2 separate regions of the Homo sapiens genome follow, and region 2 is linked to region 1. The links are contacts of gene promoters, found by promoter capture Hi-C in blood cells and fetal thymus (Javierre and others, 2016). All regions are on one chromosome and are shown on one strand. Each heading gives the region's core, a stretch centred on a gene start or on the middle of the fragment in contact. The rest is flanking DNA. Distances are from core to core; before and after follow the strand shown. Region 1 holds the start of CLLU1 (chronic lymphocytic leukemia up-regulated 1). Region 2 overlaps LINC01619 (long intergenic non-protein coding RNA 1619).

Region 1 (2,700 bases), core at 13-2,512:
TTAAAAGCTCAGTGGTGACCACAACAATTATTTAGAATTCAAACCAAGAAAATGTTTTTTCAGGGAAGAGTATTTGACCACTAGTATGATTTAGAATTATGATGCATGGCAATAATTATACCAAACTGCATTTCAGTGACTCTATTATTTTTTCAGATTCTCTACAGACAGTGCAGCCTAGTATCTCCCAGACTTGTACTTCCTATGGCCCTGCACTTGGGGCCCCACTGCCTGGTAGAAATGAAGGTTAGTGTTCGAAAGTATTTAAAGAATCCTGCTAATCCCTATTTTATCCATAAATGTCATCTGTCATAAAGAAACTTTTAGCAGTTTCTCAACTTCTGAGAGGTCTTGTGGGAGGTTTTGCCATAAAGTGCTCTTGTTGAGCTCTTGATATCTATAAGCTGATGCCCTGGGCTTGTCCCAAATGATGCCTCCCACCCATTCATCAGCAGGACACTATCCCAGTTCACACACCTATGCCCCATCTCCACATATGTTTCACCAAAACCATAAATTTTGAAATAGAGTCAATATAAATGTATAACATATTGTATTAGGGCTCTTCAGAGAAAAAGAACCAATAGTATATTTGTGTGTGTTTGTGTATGTGTGCGTATACAGTCATGCACTACACAATGACATTTCAGTCTACAAAGGATTGCATATATGATGGTGATCCCATAAGATTATACCATATTTTTACTGTACCTTTTCTACATTTAGATATGGTAGATACATACATACTTATCATGATGTTATACATACTTATCATGAGGTTACAAGCTACACCATGTAGCCTAGATGTGTAGTAGTCTATGCTGTCCAGGTTTGTGTAGTTACACTCTATGATGTTTGCACAATGATGAAATCACTTAACAATGCATTTCTCAGAACCTGTCTCCATTGTTAAGCAATGCATAACTGGATATGTAAATAAAATGGAAATTGACTCACACAATTATGGAGGCCAAGAAGTCCCATGATCTGCCATCTGCAAGCTGGAGAACCAGGAAACCTGGCAGTGTAATTCAGTCCAAGTCCAAAGAACTGAGAACCAGGGAAGCCAAAGGTGTAACTCCTGGTTTAAGTCTGAAGGCCCACTCACATCCAAGGGCAGGAGAAGATGATATACTAGATCAAGAAGAAAAGAAGCAAATTTTCCCTTCCTCTTTTTGTTTTATTCAAGCTTTCGACAGATTGGATGATGCCTGCCCTTATTGGTGAGAGCCGTCTGCTTTACTAAGTTCACCAATTCAAATGCTGATCTCTTCCGAAAACACTCTTATGGACACACCCAGAATAATGTTTTACCAGCTACCTGGTCATCCTTTAGCCTAGCCAGGTTGATGCATAAATTTAATTATCACACATATAGTCTTACCAATTAGTGACCTTTTCATTCTTTATGGTATTTAACAGTGAAGATTTGTAGATGGTCTGTCTACTTGGTTTTATAGGTTTTGATCAGCACTCAGAAGCTCAGTTTGATCACCCTAGTTTGGCCTGAGCTGAAAGCACTGAAACAGTGAGTTCTTTGGGTCTTACTTCTAGAAACCAGGAAATGAGAGAGATAGTGACTTGGTTTCTCTTATGTTTCCCTTTTGTTCTCTTCTCAGTGGCCTTGCTAACAAGTTTACCTCCAAACTATGAGATTTCAGAAGGAAAACCAAGAGCCATCTCTGCATATGTGAGAGCGGGCAAAGGAAATGTGACAAGGAGAAGAAAGAAGACACACTTGGGCAATGATGATGGGAAGAAGGAAGCACAGGAGAAAATGTAAGAAATGTACAGGTGAGAGAGATCAGGAGAAAGATGGGAAATGTGGGAGAGCAGCAGGAATCATAACAATAATAATGCCAATTTGGAAACGAGAACCAGTGTATAAAGCATACCAATAAGGCCAACGAAGTGCCAACGATGGAAAGCCACCCTATCAGGAGAAAGTAAAGTCATAGCAGATGTTTTATGAGACAGCTCAGAACACAATGACTGACCAAGAAAGCGGCACAAGTTAGAGGTGGAGAAATGACCCAGACCCAGACCTTTAGGGGTCCTGAACTTGGTTCATACCTCATGTCAGAAGGAGTAGTGACCAAAAGAAATTCTCTTTGCTTTAATTATAGAAGCAGGAATATACCTGATTTTGTATGTAACAGCATATGTTTAAGATCTGAATATTTCTATACCCAAAAGCATAATGTATTAGGGTTAATCATTTGAAATTGCCAATATGCACTCATTTTACCTATAAAAACTGTAATTTTGCATGGTTCAAACTAATAGATATGAAGATATTCTCAAGCAAACTTTTTTTTCTTTTGCCTTGAAGCCCATGAGGAAGATCCAAAGAGAACTTTGGCCTTAACTAAGCTTCCTACATTCTCCTGGAGTCGGTGGTTTATGAATGTGGTGCCATCTGGGGAACTGACAACCCCTGATGTGTTCACTCTGCTCGTCTTCCAGGTGAGAGAAGAAGAAGGCGAGAAAGAAAGAGAAGTTCCAGAATTTCACAGGCTGAGGGAGATGGTAGTAACTTCTGTTTATGTTGGTTTCTGTTTATTGGTTTGCTTTTTATTTTGAACTCGTTTGACTTCAGGTTCCAGATTTGTTTTTTTCTTTGTAAACGAGACTTTGACATTGTTAGCAGGCCCATCTGTTTGCTTTTCTTAAATAAAATGTAAATTGGTTTTTGTTTTA
Region 2 (2,700 bases), core at 59-2,558, 310 kb after region 1:
TATATCCTTATTTATTTTTATCTATTTGACTTACTAAATTGTGATATAAAATTCCCAGGCTGGGTGCAATGACTCACACTTATAATCCTAGCACTTTGGGAGGCCAAGAGGAGAGGACTGCTTGAGCTCAGGAGTTTAAGACCAGCTTGGGCAACATAGTGAGACCCCGTCTCCATAAAAGGAATTAAGTTTTAATAAAACAATAATTAAGACAAATTAAAAAACTTAAATTCTGATATAAAATTCCCCATCATGACTGTGATTTTTTTAAAGGTTATACGTGTCTTTGTTACAGTTTTGTTTCATGTATTTTACTGCTGTAGATTTTGGTCTACAAGAATTCATGAATTATATTTTTAGATTTCATAATATGCCTCTTTTTCCTGCTTAATGATATTGATCTTGAATTCTTATCTGATTTTGATTTTGACATTTCTGCTTTCTGTTTGCATATATTTACGTGGTGTAATTTTCCATGTGCCTTTATTTTAAAACTTCCTTTGTCATTTGGTTTTAGGCATGTTTCTTGAATATAGTAATAAGCTGGTGTATCCATTAGGATAATTTGGGTTGCAAATAATGCACAAGGGTTTAAAAAATGAAGTGAGATATGTTTGCTTTTATAAAGTTCTAGGACAGATCTAGTCCAGGCATGGTTTGTGTGTTGTGACTTGATTTCTCTCTATTATTTCAGCTTTCATTTCCTGGTGTGTTGTGCAGCTTCTCTCGTGGCAGCAAAATGGCCACAGAGGTTTGATTCCAGGCCTTTCATGTGTTTACACCTTACAGTCCAGCAGAAGAAAGAGCTCCTCTTCTGAAAACCTTGAAAGCTCTTGAATCTTATGTCTAATCCCCCAACAAATCACTATGATGGCATGCCATACCACACTGAGTCTGGGTCTGTGCTACTTATCCTTGAACCAATCACTTTGGTGAGGGGATCGGTATTATGATAAATGGTTAGTTTATGTAAATTAAGGCTGAAGCCTAAAATTGAAGCTTGAGATTCATTCCCACTCAAGTTAATGTGCTATTATTCGAAGGAACAGAGTAAGTACTATAAATATTGGAAAGAAGTTAGCACATTTCTCACTGCTGGAAAACCATACAATTCCATATCTTCAAAAGCCAAATGGATCAACTCATAAAGTATATCAGAAATAATCAGAAATAAGTAAGATTATTTTTACAAGATTAATAATGGAAAAAATTCAATCATTTTTATATAAAAATAACCAATTAGAAAATATAATTAAAGGAACTATTTCATTTATTAGATATAAAATATACTGAAATAAATTTATTAAGAAACATGCACTATTTATATGAAAATACATGCAGTTTCACTGAGAGATCTAAGATGTTTCTAGCTAAAAGAGCTCAACATTATAAAGATATGTGTTCTCCTTAAATTTGTTTCTAAAATTATTGCAATCCTAATCAAAATCACAATGATTTTCTTTTTTGGGGAGGTAGATCTGGCTGGGGGAGGTAGATCTGGCTGTCAAGACAAAGGTTTTAAAGTCTATATGATAAAACTAATTATGCTAGGCTAGCCCCGAAAAACCAAACAGACAAGCCCAGGCATCATGGGCCTGTGTGAAAGAAAGAAGCTTTTGCTGACTGTATATATAAAACATAATATAATATAAAGCTATAGTAATTAAAAACAATGGAATACTGGTACAAAAATAAATAAATAGAACAGAACAGGAAATTCAGAAAAAAACCAAAGTAATATAAAAGTGGCTTAGCATATTAATGGAACTGGTTCTATGGTATTTATTTTAGACTTCAATAAGCCATGTGTCTAAAACAAATGAGTGTAATAATCTCTAAGGTAACAATAAAATGAAATAAAATAATGTATAGCTACCAAGTTAATAGAAGGTAAAAAATGGAATCATAAAAAAAGAAAGAAAAAATAATATAGACAGATAGTATAGATAAAAAGCAAATAGCAAAGTCATAGACCTAAGTGCATTAATAATAATTATATTAAAGTAAATGGGCTAAATCCTTAATGCAACTAAAAGACCAATACTGTCAGACTAGATTAAAATAAAAACAAACAAGAACTAACTGTATGTTGTTTATAAGAAAAATACCTAACATATACTGAAGAGGTTGAATATAAAAAGATGGAAAATTCTATCATGCAAAAACTAACCAAAAGAAAGCTGTGATGGCTGTATTATTAAAAGTAAGTTTATGAAAAGTGGAGAGGAAATAGTTAGTGGGAGGAGGAGAAGAGGGAGAGCAGGAAAACAGTATAAGTAATGCTTATGAGGTAGCCTGGCTCTCTATTGAGGAGGGGGGGGCAGAATAGAGGGTAAGTGGGCCAGTGAGTGTGTAGCCCGTGTGCTAGAAACTAGTGGGAGATGACATAGAATTGGAAAGATGGATCCAGATTAGGGAAAGCCTACAAATTCTGGATTTGGTCATGAATTTAATAAATGAGAATCTGGTGTATCTATCTTTAGTAGTAGTGAAAAATCAGAATTTAAAACTTGTTATTGTCAACACTATTAACAGCCTTTAGATGATTAGAAAAACTCTATTCCTTTATCTACTGTTAAAGTCTTCAATAAAACATCATATTTTCCTTGACCAGCCACATATAGTGTAGTGGTTGTTAATTGGGGATTTGCCTGGGTTCAAATTTTATCCTCTCATTGTGCATCCAGTTCTTCCTGGCTA

The links. The method cuts DNA at HindIII sites, captures the fragments that hold promoters and counts their contacts. A CHiCAGO score of 5 or more calls a contact.
Region 2: a contact is called between a fragment that was not itself captured here and the fragment with the promoter of CLLU1 in region 1, in 1 of 17 cell types (naive B cells). The highest score is 5.9, in naive B cells.

Annotation. Positions count from the first base shown.
Region 1 is chr12:92,420,093-92,422,792 of GRCh38, reverse strand. CLLU1 (chronic lymphocytic leukemia up-regulated 1) reads right to left here and starts at 1,262. Exons shown (of 2, transcript NR_027933.1): 1 at 958-1,262. CLLU1-AS1 (CLLU1 antisense RNA 1) reads left to right here. Exons shown (of 3, transcript NR_144319.2): 2 at 1,620-1,779; 3 at 2,333-2,700. The HindIII fragment of the contact is 1,184 bases long and covers 1,192-2,375 here.
Region 2 is chr12:92,113,115-92,115,814 of GRCh38, reverse strand. The region is part of intron 1 of LINC01619 (long intergenic non-protein coding RNA 1619); the gene reads left to right. Among named protein-coding and RNA genes, the nearest start is that of LINC01619, 28 kb to the left of the region's middle. The HindIII fragment of the contact is 614 bases long and covers 1,002-1,615 here.